3 separate regions of the Homo sapiens genome follow, and all the other regions are linked to region 1. The links are contacts of gene promoters, found by promoter capture Hi-C in human tissues and cell types (Jung and others, 2019). All regions are on one chromosome and are shown on one strand. Each heading gives the region's core, a stretch centred on a gene start or on the middle of the fragment in contact. The rest is flanking DNA. Distances are from core to core; before and after follow the strand shown.

Evidence for each region. Contacts are between HindIII fragments. The study calls those that stand out against the background at their distance.
Region 2: a contact is called between a fragment that was not itself captured here and the fragment with the promoter of HLF in region 1, in 2 of the 25 tissues and cell types used here (dorsolateral prefrontal cortex and liver).
Region 3: a fragment that was not itself captured here is called in contact with the fragment with the promoter of HLF in region 1 in 1 of the 25 tissues and cell types used here (thymus).

Annotation. Positions count from the first base shown.
Region 1 is chr17:55,263,217-55,267,818 of GRCh38, reverse strand. It overlaps HLF (HLF transcription factor, PAR bZIP family member), which reads right to left and starts at 2,859. Exons shown (of 4, transcript NM_002126.5): 1 at 2,220-2,859; 2 at 1-68. The coding sequence starts at 2,334. RefSeq lists a silencer at 2,736-3,055. The HindIII fragment of the contact is 14,198 bases long and covers 1-4,047 here.
Region 2 is chr17:55,304,408-55,308,683 of GRCh38, reverse strand. The region is part of intron 2 of HLF (HLF transcription factor, PAR bZIP family member); the gene reads right to left. Among named protein-coding and RNA genes, the nearest start is that of HLF, 42 kb to the right of the region's middle. The HindIII fragment of the contact is 3,820 bases long and covers 1,117-4,276 here.
Region 3 is chr17:55,201,907-55,206,085 of GRCh38, reverse strand. It overlaps a transcript of STXBP4 not described here. Among named protein-coding and RNA genes, the nearest start is that of HLF, 61 kb to the left of the region's middle. The HindIII fragment of the contact is 5,408 bases long and covers 1-3,977 here.

The sequences.
Region 1 (4,602 bases), core at 1,610-4,109:
CTGGGGGACCGTCGGGCTGTTACTCTCATCATCCAGCTTCTTTTCCTTGTCTTTATCTTTACTAAATGCTGCAGAAGAAGGGAAAGCTGGACTTAAAAAAAAAGAAAGAAAAGAAAAACAATACCGCTCTTTTATCACTTTTCCTGGCCTGTTATAAGACTATTTCTCACGAATGGCAGGGTCCTTCTCTGGCTGCTGTCTTTTGTAGATCTAGAGTTAAAAGTTCAGGCAGGACGTGGATCTCTGCCTGTTTTTCAACATCTTCCTATTTACTTTGGAAAGAAGGCACTAGTCCTTGGGGCAGGGCTACAGGCTGATCTAGGATAAAAACCAGAGAACAGTCTCAGCACATTATTTGAGAAGAGTAATAACTTAAACCTAAAATAGGAATATAACATCTGTGATTATATACAACTGCTGTCATTTTTAAGAAAACAACAGCCAATAACCAGGCTTGAATTATCTTCCAGGAATTCATCACAGCAGCAATAGGAGGTCATTCAGACTTACAAAGCCAGTGAGTTAGTGGTCTTAATTTTGGTAAAGCAGGGACCTTCCACCCTTCTTTAACATCATGTTTAGAGTACCTACTGGATACCTGGTTCTTTCCATATATTATCTCAAAAATCTCACAATAAACTTGCAAAATAACAATTACCTCCATTTACAACAAAGACTCGGAGGCTCTGAGACTTGAGGGAACTTGACCAATGCCTCATGTTGGCAGAGAATGAGAACTTTCTGAGCTCACATGTGTTTGCTTCTAAAGCCACTGGGGCACACTGATTTTTACAAAAGGAGTTTAAAAAAATACAAAGTGTTTTCTTCCTTCTCTTCTCCAAACATTTGAGTATGATCCAATTTACAAAGAGTATGCATTTACAAAACCTTTCAAAAGCAGAGCTATTGGAAAAGGTGAGTTATTCTATACATTTATGTTGGAAGTATGCAGCTATTTGCTACCTGGAAGTACTGCTCGCCCATTAGGTCTTTAACAAGCATTCCGGATCTTGCCAATTCTAGTATTCAGTCGTGGGTGGAATCTGGGATTAAGGAATTTGCTTCTGAGTTTCATCTTCAGAGAAACACAGCCTCCACTGCCATCCATTCTAACCCTCTACCATCTCATCTGAAAATCTGACTTAAAACACCCACAGATGCAAAAGCCTGCAGGCAGCCCCTTCCTCCCAAATGCTCTTCCTTAAAGGATAGTTAGGGAGGGGTCCCTGGCTATCATCTGCAGATTGCAAACTCTTGCAATGCAACAGGTTGTCCTCTCCTAGAAAAGAAGGTGCAAGTACTCCCAAGCTATTTGTAGCCAAATAACCTTTCAGAACTTTACACTGTGAGCCGCACGGTTCGCATTTGCTACTGTGATACCGAAGGCATGAAATCGCATCAACCCAAATCCGTGGCATCACTTAGCCGGGTTTGGGGCCTCATCACACGTACCCCTCCTCTACTGCTAAGGCCAAGGTTGTCTTGGGAAGGTTTGGGACTTACCAAGAAAGGGCTCAAGCCAGAGGAGGCTCCTGCGCGGTTACACGTGAGCCTGCTCCGCTCTCCCCTCCCACCAGAAAAAGTGCACCGGGAAAGTGTCAACGCTGGAGGCGTGCACGGCTTCCCGCCGAGAGACCACTCCCCCCACCGGCCCCAGCCCCCACCCCGCTTTCTCAGCTACCCTTCACCAGAAGAAAACGAGTCTTCTCTCACACCTCGTGAGTTCCAAATACTAACCAGTAACAGAAGCTGTAACACAACCCCAAAACCCAGGCTACGCAGTGAAACCCCCTCCCTCAAGCCGACCCCCGCCCCCTGCCCCGCACAGAACCAGGCCCCAGGGTTTCTCCTCCCCAGCCCGGGAGGCTCTGCCCTCCGCAGGCGGGCTCGCTCTGCGTGCGGGTGTGCCTCGTTCTAGGGAACGATCCTGACCTGTCAAGTTACACCTCCCACCCGCGCCGCAGGAGCGGGACCCAGGGAGGCCGGGTGCCCGAAGCTCTTTTAAATGTAGCTCAGGAGGGGTCCCTCCCCTTTCATGGAGGAGGAGGAAGGGGAGGAAGGGTGCTGGGTGAGCTCCTCAATTTCATCAGCGCGGGGCCGGGGCGCCGCGGGACAGGGCGGGAGCGGGGTTGGGGGATGCTCCAGCGGGCGTGCCCGGCCGCGGAGGGGGACCCCCGGAGCGTCGTCCCTTCCCGGAGCGGGGCCGCGGCAGCGCTCACCGTCTTCGTGGTGAAGGGGGAGCTTCAGCGGGTTCTCCAGCAGGGACCTGAGCACGCCGTAGGGAGGCGGGATAAAGGTGGGATTCAGGGGGAGCGGTCGGGACATTTTCTCCATCGCGATGCACTCAAATTTTTTCCCCTTAAAAAAAGAAATAAGAAAGAAACAACCGCCCCCTAAAATGTTGCTGAGCTTTTCCTCCGTCCTTTGCCAAAAGTACTCGCTCTCAAGGCGGTGGAGAAAAGGGAAGAAAAAAATTACTTATATCTTTATAAATACATCTGCATAAAAATATATATTAAAAAAAAACTTTCGGGTTTCCAGTGCAGACGGTCCCAGGAGAGCGCGCCAAGTGCCCGCGGGCTCCCCGGCGACGTGCAGGATGCTCTCACCTGCCTCGAACCCCTCGTTTTGCAAAATGTTCAAAATTGAAAAAAAGAAAGAAAAAAAAATGTCGACGGCTGCAGAAGGGCAGAAGACACCGCGCCGACCCCAGCCCCTAGTGCCAGCACCGGAGGCGGTGCGCCGTCCCACCCCACCCCCCTCCCCGCGCCGGCGGCCGCTGCTCCCCAGCGCTCCGCGGCCCCGCAGCGCCGGGCTCAGCGCATCCGGCCGCCCATGTGCCGCGGCCCTGACAAGAGTGACGTCAGGGCCCGCACCTCGCGCCCATAGGCGTGCGGGGGCGGGGCCACGCGCGGCACCGCCCGCCTGGCCCGCTCGCCCCGCCGCCGCGTGTTTAGCGTCGCCGCTCGCGCCGATTTTCGGGGACCTTGCAGCACTGGCTGGTTGCAGGGGAGCAGGTGCCAGATTCCCTGGGCCATCAACTTAGGCTTAGATTTTTTTTTTTTTTTTTGGTCTGGGTGGGAAGAGGAATGAGAAATTTATATCCATAGTTTTCAAGCTGGGAATAACCTGAGGAGTTTTAAAAAAATCGCGATACCCAGGCCGCATCCCAGATCAATTAGATCAGAACCTCTGCGGTGCTATCAGGGCGTCCATAATTTTTAAAGCTCCCCAGGTGGTTCCAAAGAGTAGCCAAGTTTGAGATGATTGGTTTAGATCGGATGGAAGGTAACGACCCTTCTCAATATTTCTCCTGGCCCCGGCCAAGCTTAGCGTCTTCTTTCTTGCCCAGTTTCCACCACCACCAAAAAATAACTACTTCCTATAAGTCCGAATGGGATGCAAAAAGCAGAGCGGGAAGCGGAGGACTGAGCTGCTGGGCACTGTTTCCCACGCTGCAGAGAGGTGTTAACGGTGGGGGGAGAGGGGGGGTAGACATTTGCCTGAAACGGAAAGAGGCGGGAGAGACACAGACACACTGAACGGGATTTTAGGAATATTTACTCTGGGTGAATACAGGTGATTGCGCTTGGGTCAAGTTATTAGGTTTGCACGGTGATTAAAATAATTTTGTAAAGTATCCCCTAAGGGGGCTTCGGCTTTCCTTGCTGTTACAGCAGCTGCAGCGTCTCCCTCTGCCAGTTTGACCTCGTGGCACCCACGGTCCCCGAGATCTGCGTGCGACCCCCTGTGTGATAACTCCCTTCCCGCCTGGGGTGGTGCGGGCGCTGGCGTGCAGCCGCGACGCCCCCTGCAGAGCTCCGCGGGGGGCCAGGCAGGTTCTTCCCCTCCCTCCTTACCTCTCCTTACTAAGACCCTAGTCTTCGATCTGGGGAAGGGGCTGCAAGAACGAATGGGCACAAATGAAAGAAAACCGTTTTTCAGTGGGACGTAAAGGCCTTTGTGACCCCAGGCTGAGTCGCTGGGGAAGGATGTGGTGGTGTCTTGATGGGGTTTACTTCCCCAGGAGAGGGTTGTAAGAGAGGAGGCGCCTGAAACCCCAGAGATCAGGAGCGGCGGCGCAGCGGGGTTCAGAGTTCCCTGGCAGGGTGATTCCGGCAAGTGCCTTTCTGCCCTGAGCTGTAGGTTCTTCATAAAAGGACACGTAATCTAGTGACCTCTACTTCCTCACTCTAAAATTATGGCAAAAGGGTAAGGCAACATTCTAAGTGAGATGTTGTTGCAGTGTTTCAGGTTTCAGACGAATTCCAGAAACAGCAAACTTTTAGTTAATGCCACATGCATTTATTGAGCACCACGGTATGTATGCCAGCGACTATGCGGGGGCTAGTGAAAAAAGATGAATAAAACATAATTTTAACCTTCAAGAACTCATCGTTTAGGGTTTGGCATATAAGCAAATAATATAAAATAGGCTTAAAAGAACAAAAATGGATAGATGGAGGTGACAGGGGCACTTACATTATTAGGAAAGGGATTCTAGAGAAGGTGCCTGAGCTGGGCGTGGAGGTAATAGTCTCTCGTGAACGGTCTGAATCCATCAATTATATTATATTGTTTTTTTAAAAAATAAAAAAGGGA
Region 2 (4,276 bases), core at 1,777-4,276, 41 kb before region 1:
CAGGATTTAAATTTGTACAGGACAGTCGTTTTACGCTGTGAAGTGAGTCAGACCTGGGTCTGAATGCTGATTCTGTCACCTGTATGTTATAAACTTGGGCCTTTGTAAATAAATGACCCCCAAAAAATGCCCCTCTAAATCCTAATAAGGTCTGTATTGGGGAAAGGGACTATCGTTGACTTTTTCCCCCTTCTTTTCTTAACCTACCTGAGTTTCAATTCCCTTATGTGTAAAAGGAGATTACTATGCCTGATTCTATGTGAAAAATGAACTAGATAATACATACAAAGTGCTTAGCACAATCTGTAGTACCCGGAAAGTGTGCAATAAATGGTCTCTATATAAACACATATACAAAATACAGATAATAGTTCAGAGATACTTGAAAGTAAATCAAATAAACAGACTATTCCCCTTGTCTAAGCCAGCACTGTCTGTCCTCTGAACTACTGCAACTTTTAACCATTATCCCTTTTCTATCTCCCACGTCTCCACAGCGGTACACTGTGATAATTCTAAACATGCAGACCCGTGTGGGTCACATCTCCATATCAAACCCTCCCAAGGCTTCCCATTGCCACATATGATCAGATCCACGGCTCTACCTCACTCACACACTTGGCCACACTGGCCTTCCTTCTGCTCCTTGCGTCCCCTGAATGTGATCCCACCCAGGCCTTTGTATTTAGTTTCCTCTCTACCTAAAGCATTCTTCCTCTGCTCTCTGCCTACCTAGTCCTCCTACGTTATGTAGACATTAGCATAAATGCCAATTCCTCGAACCCTCTGACTTTCCTCTACCCCTGCTCAATACCCATCAAACAACTCTGTTTGATGTTTTTTTTTTTTTTTTACAATATTTATCTCCATCCCAAACGATCTTTTTTATTTGTTTGATATTGCTGATCTCTTCCCTCCACTCCCATGTAAGCCCCACAGAACAGTGACCTGGCCTTACCTGCTGCTGCCCCAGATTCTAGATGGAACCTGCATGGAGGGGACAGCACGAGCTACTGAGCAGCTGGACATAACACCCCCCAGATCCTAACAGGGACTTTTGGGAGGAACAGGGGCAAATTTTAATTCTTATTTTCAATATTTTGCAAATTGTCTATAATGAGGATCTTCACTTTCAAAATCAGAAATTAAAAATGTTATTTTTTTCACTTTGTGCATGTATGTTCCAGGAGTCTGTGTTAAATGCTACTGAGAGAAGGCTGGGCATGGTGGCTCATGCTTGTAATGCCAGCACTTTGGGAGGCCAAGGCAGGCAGATCACTTGAGGCCAGGAGTTCGAGACCACCCTGGGTAACACGGTGAATCCCTGTCTCTATTAAAAAATAATAATAATAATAATAAATAATTAGCTGGGCATGGTGGCGCACGCTTGTAATTCCAGCTACTTGGGAGGCTGAGGCAGGAGAATCACCTGAACCTGTGAGGTGGAGGCTACAGTGAGCCAAGATTGCGCCACTGCACTCCAGCCTGGGTGACAGAACCAGACTCCGTCTCAAAAAAAAAAAAAAAAAAAAAAAAGGCCGCTGAGAGGAGACCATTCAACCCCCTTGAAAGGAAGAAGAAACCAAAGAGAGGGAGGAAATGGGATGAGGAAAAAAAAAAAGAGGAGGTAAAAGCATGTTGCTCTGCTGCTGGCTGTTTTACCAAATCAAGGAATACATTATAGCTGATAAACCAACCTAGCTGAGATCTACAGGGTTCCCATCCAAAAGGCCACAGCAGCAGATGCCCTTCAATGCATCTATGCCCTGAGGTCAGAAGTGTATTGGGCAGCAGGGAGGAAAGGAAGAGAAAGAAAGAGGAATTAAGAAACCAAGAAGAAATACAAGAATGAATCAAAGAAGAAATAAAGAAAGAATAAAGAAAGGTATTATGGAAGGAAAGAAAGGCATCAAAAGGGAGGGGGAGAAAGAAAGAAGAAGAAAAAAGAGATAGAAAGTCTTAGCCAAAGATGAAATTGGAAGGTGTCCTGGATCCCAGTAGCTGGGAACCTGTCATAGCTCTGACATATTTTAAATGTCCTGCACATTACACGGTTGATGTACTAATTTTAAGGCAAAAACAAATCATGCATACACATACACATGCATACACACACACACACACACACACACACACACACACACACTTCCTTTTTGCCTCATTCAGATGGCAAGTGCTCAGTAAGTTTTCAGTCCATGATTACAGAACAAATATACTGAAAGGCCCATTGTAAAGATCCCTTTGATCTCAGTGGCTCTTATCCAGCAATTCTCTCCACACAGTAACAGGCTGTCAACAGAAATATGGGTAAAGCATGATGCTAAGCCAGTTCAATCCATTACGTGTAAACATTAGGAAAAGAGTCTGTTGCCATTTACTGAGAAGGTGAATGCAATGACGTCCTGTAGGCTGGTAGACGGGCTTCCCTGGCCTACTGAATAATCAATATCAGCAATTTTTTTTTTAAACAGGATCTTGCTCTGTCTCCAGGCTGCAGTGTAGTGGCGTGATCATAGTTCACTGAAACCTTGAACTCCTGGGCTCAAACAATGCTCCCACCTTGGCCTCCCAAAATGCTGGGATTACAAACATGAGCCACCTCTCTGGTAATATCAGTAATACTGATAGTAAGGTTCTTCAGAGATTACTTCATTTAATTGTCACAATAGCTATATGAAGGCAGAATAGTTCATATACCCATTTTCCATATGTGGAAATAAAGGAATAGAAAACAGAAAGCTTAAGACAAGCTCAGATATGCTAAATAATTTGCCCACGCAGATGGAAAAACAGAGACTCATCTCCCCATCCTTCTCACTCTAAAGCCCATGTTCTTTTTCATGCGAATGCCCCAGGAATGCAGCCAGGAAGCCTAATTGTGCCCCAAGGAGAGCCAGGCACCCAGCCTTCCAGAATGAGAGTCCTGCATCAGGACCTGGGCTGGAGCCTTGTGCACAACACTCCACAGAACCATCAGCCTCTGCGAGGCGGGCACTGTATCCCACATTTTAAAGAGGAAAAAGTGGAGAGGGAGAGGGGGTGAAACCACCTGCTTAAAGTCATACAGCTAGAAAGCCAGGGGGAGGCTGGGTGGAGTGCAGACTCCAGTGGGCTCAACCATAGCCCACGCTCTTTCTGCTCCACTTCACTTCCTCCTCATGGGGGCAGAAGAGAAAGGAAGGGGAGACTCTGCAGTTCCCCTCCACTCTAGCCCAATAGGTTCCTGGACAAGAGTTGGCAAACCCCAGAGAGGTAGGTATGGCTTCCTCTCATGGACAAGAGCCCAAGGAAGCTCCAGGCAGCCAGGCATCCTGCTTCCTTTCCCTCCCTTCTTTTACCTCCCTCTCTCTCGTCCACTTCCTCCATCCTCCTGAATGGCGAGCTGTGCCAAGGGCAAGATTGCATTTGACAAAGCAACTGTTGACCCACAGGCCAGGGCTCCTGTCAATGCTACATCTCATGCACTAGTATTTTTAAGGAGCTTCTGGATAGGCCAGAGACCACGGCTCACTAGGAGAAGGGTAAGGATTCCCGGCAGACAGGGTGTCTGATGTATTCCGTCACATGAAGAAGAAGTTGGCTTCAAAGGTCACTTCTTGGGGGAGGTCTGTATTATATCTATGCCCTTAAACTATTAGTATGCAAATTAACGTTTGGTTTGGGCAGACAGACATTTTGAACCCTGTTTCAATGCTCCCACTCTGGCCTGAGCCCCTTTCCTTGGGCCTGTCCTGCACGAGGTAGCTCAGTTCATCAGAAGGTGTAGACAAACAGGATTCATCATGACTCTGACACTACGTAGTTGTGTGTGGCCTGGGGCCAGTTACTCTGCCTCATGGTCTGATTCCCTTATCTGTCAAGTGGGAGAAATGACGCCCACCTCAGGGCGCTGAATGGGATGGACAGTATGTGGGAAGGCCCCTTGGTAGGTGGAGAGTCCACACTTCCCTCCTGTCACACTCCCCAGCTCCCATTTCCCTCTAGCTACAGCCCAAGCAAAGCCTGTTAGATGTCACCCAGTGTGACCCTGTGCCCAGAACAGCACATCGCCCTGGGATCATGCATCAGTACTCAAAGTGGCCCAGACTAGACTCCTCAGCTTCTAACTTGGCAGGAGCTTGGGCTGGATTAACAAGGCCTCTCATTCCAGTGGTGTTTACCATCATGCTTCCTTGCCTATGGTGTCAGCAAAATCTGCCCCCTTGAACCCACTGAAAGGTGAGACCAGCGGAACTCATAACCACAGCCGGTTAGAAGTCAGTTAAGTTGGGGTACA
Region 3 (4,179 bases), core at 24-2,523, 60 kb after region 1:
CTTTTCTCACTAATCAATATAGAGTTTATGATAATAAGTATAGACCTGCCTTATGCATTTTAATAAGTATATAATATACTATTTAATATATTCACGAATATTTAATTAACCATTCTTTTACTTAGGGACATTTAGGTAATTTCCAATTTTATACTGCTAGAAATAATGCTTCAGTATATGTCTTTTACCCAAGTGCCAATATTTTTGTAGGAGGAAACTCCTAGAAGTGAAATGATATGAATGTTTTAAAGTTTGATAAATATTGTAAAGTAGCTTTCCATAAGATTTGTACCAGTTTGTCTTCCCACCAAGAGTATATGAGATCCTATATTTTCACAGCCTTGCCAAAAATATATATAAATATTTGTCAATCTAAAATATTAGAAAACTCTTATTTTGTTTCTCAGATTTTTTTAATACAATGAGGTTGAACATTTTTCAATGGGTTTATTGGCTATTTCTAGTACCTTTTATGTAAATTGTCTCTTCACCTGTCCCACTTTGTGTATATGTGTGTGTGTGTTTGTGTGTGTGTGTGTGTGCATTTGTCTGCTGTTTATGTCTTTCCCAGTTTGTTGTTTATATGTTTACCTTTTAACACTGCTTATGGTATCTTTTGCCCTATACAAGTTTTATATAATGTAGACAAATCTGTCATTTGTTTTTACTTTGTGTGCTAACCTACGAAAGGCTTTTCTACTTCAACATTATGATTGTTTGAATCTTTAGATCTTTAATTCATCTGACATTCATTTTATATGATGGCAAATGCTTCCTTTTATATAATATTTAAAAAGTACTATAATAAATATATAATATAACCAACATCTCTTGATACCTTTCTCTGTTATATAGATCTATTTCTCTATTCTTGTCTCACTGTCATGTGGTTTTATTACTAAAACTTTATAATATAAAGACAAATTCTCCTGAATTAAACAAAAATTTCCTTGGCTATTCTCTTGCATTTACTCTTCCAGATAAAGTTTAAGATTTATCCAGTCAAACTCCAACATAGTGGAATTTCACTTCTGGCCATGGCAAGCTAATTTGTTTAGACAAACTTACCTGCTAAGAACTACTAAAAAGGGTGGACAACATATATATAATATAAAATAGTATGTTTGGTAGTTATTCAATAGTTCTTGAAGGTATTGGAGAACTGCCAAGACAGTAAGAAATATAGATGTATATGTGTATGTAGCTCTAGATTGATACCTTTTTGAAGGGGTATGTGTGTTTGTGTGTGTGTGTGTGTGTGTGTGTGTGTGTTTAATCTTGAAGGCATTGAAGAGATACCAATGCAGCCAGTACTTGAGCAAGCAGAAACCCAGAGAAAAGTAGGTTCATATAGTTGAGCCCAACTGGTGTCATTTGGTGCCTGAAAAACTAATTAGAGTTTTCTTTTTTATTCATATAGGAGAGACATTGCTAAAAATTGAGATCAGGGCCCACCAAGGGGGACTAAGGAGGGATTAAGGTGAGTAAGTGATCTACTTTTATTGTGACTGTTGTCTCAAGCAAAAGTAAATTCTTCCTGAGAAAGATAATATCTTTTATAGCTCTGATTATCTGTGTAATTTTTTACACACAATATTTAGAGTTCAATTTTTAAAACCTGGCAGGCAAAAAAGGTAAGAATTAATCAAAAAGCACATAAAAAAGCAGATCACAGAAATAGCCTCACAAGTAATCTATATGTTAGAGTTTATCAGGAATAAACTTTAAACTGAGTATAATTAATACATTCAAGAAATTGGATGACAAAATGGAGAATTTAAGCAGAGAACTGGAGACTATGAAAAAGAATAAAAAAAACTGTAGAACTAAACAATATAGTAACTGAAATTAAGAACTAAATAGTTTAACACCAAATTAACCACAGCTAAAGAGACAATTAGTGAACTGGAAGATAGGTCAGAAAAAAATACCAAGAATAATACAGCAAGAGAATAGCATTAAAAATAGAAGGACAGGGGAACATGATGAAAAGGTCATATATACAGCTGAAGTCCAAAAAAAAGAAATAAAAAATAAAATAGAACAGAAGAATGTCTAAAGAGATATTGGATGAGATTTTCCAAAAATGACCCCAAAAATCAAATCACATTTTCAAGAAGTGCTATAAACTCCAATAATGAGTAACAAAGAAGAATATCTCTGTACAGAACACACTAAAACTAATAATTACCAAAGATAAAGAGAAAAATCTTAAAACCAGTGAAATGAAGTAAGAAAAAAAAGATCACCTTCAAAGGCACAAGAAAGACTGATGGCCAACTTCTTAACAGAAATAATGGAAGCCAGAAGATAATGAAATAATGACACTAAAATCTTGAAACATATAGCATTCCTTTCTTGAACACCTTTGGTCAGTTTGTGAAATAATCAGTTCTATTAGAGGATGTGTATGATTGGTAGAAATTTTCCTCTTATATTGTGCTAAAATGTATCTGCTTATAATTTTCACTGGGTCTAGTTTTACTCATGTTAATTTCAGAGAATTTAGAATTTCAGGACTTTTGGAGCTAAATTTTCCTCCACTTGTTTGTGTAGGATAATTTTCAATAACTTCTGAAGTTTGAGAAACAATTTTCAAACTCACCTTAGATCCCCTACCATCCACCCATTCTACAAACAATGAGCATCTATTATGTAGCTGTCGTTTTTTTAAAATGACATCAATGCAATGATAACTATGACTTGCTTACTCTCCATGAGGAGCTCTTCATAAAGAGGGTGGAAAAGACAATAGACAGTTATTGCAATGCGCTGTGATAACTTCAATTATAGGTGTAAACATAAGATTCTATTCGAGTATAGGGCAGGAACATCTACCTCAGCACAGGGGAAGAGGACCTAGTTCCTAAAGGAACAAAAACCTGATAGGATTAGGAGTTAGCTATATTTTCCTTTTTGGAGGGAAAAGCAAAACAGGTGTTCTAGAAATAGAGACCCATATGTGCAAAAGCATAAAGAAGTGAAAGAGCATGCCATCTGGTCTTTCTGCCTTTTTCTCAACTACAGCAGATGAGCTCCTTCCTGCAGCCAGGAAATACAACTTCCAGCAGCTCTAGAAAAATATTGCTCCAGTTTAGCAAACTTAGTGGAAAAATGAAGCTTTTTCCTATAGTCCAATGATCGTTTTCTGGAGACATGAATGCTGAATGACCTTTCTTGGCTCTTATGCCCATCCTCCAGACTACTTAAAGTGTTAAAGGAATGTAGTAAAAAGATTGAACAACCTTGAAGCATGTACCCAGCTTTTGGGGAAGAACAAGAAATGATTAGAGAAAGATCAATAATTTCCATCACCAATGGAATCACATAAAGTCAGGGAAGGTAGGATCTCAAGGGATAAGATGCTGGTCAGAAATAAACCACGCCTATTAAACAATGCCTATTAAATCCTTTCAAGACTATCTTCAAACCCATTCTCAAGAGCTTTTCTGTGTTCACATAGAAAGAGCATAGAATTGGCAGTCCGAATTCCTGGCCAGTTTTATTCCTCTTACTACCTGTGTTGCCCTGAGCAAGACACCCTTTAAACCAAAACTTCTGTGTTTATAATAATATGTGCAGTGTCATACTGGTTAGGTTTTCACAAAATTAAATGACATCATTTAATTAAATGTCATTTAATTAAATGTCATTTAATTTTGTGAAATTAATACCTGTGGTATTAATAATAAACTAATACCTGTGGTAACAGGTCCTACCTGTTTAGTCCTACTCAATACCTGTTTATATTTCCTTTGATTTTATCTTGGACTCTCAAGCATGTAAGGGATCAGACCTGGGGGTGAGAAACATATATATATGAATCAGGTGTTCAAGATTGAGAGACCATAAGAGCAGACTGTGGAAAGGCTGAGTTGGTAGAGGAGGAGTAGAAATTTGAGTAATGGTGAACAAGAGGATATGAGTGTGGGGCATAAGGTGCCCTAGCTTGTGAATTGACTCTGGCACTATGTGTGTGTGTGTGTGTGTCCCATATCTACATGTCTTGACTATATTGAACAAATTAAAGGTAAATTATTGTACTGATATAAATGATACTAAAGAATAAAGGACAAGAGAAAAGGAGAAACATTCAATTCCACCATGTAAATGTAATTTCATCTTTGTGAATTGTTTACTGTTTATGCTAATCACCCTGCAACATAATAAGCACTCTTA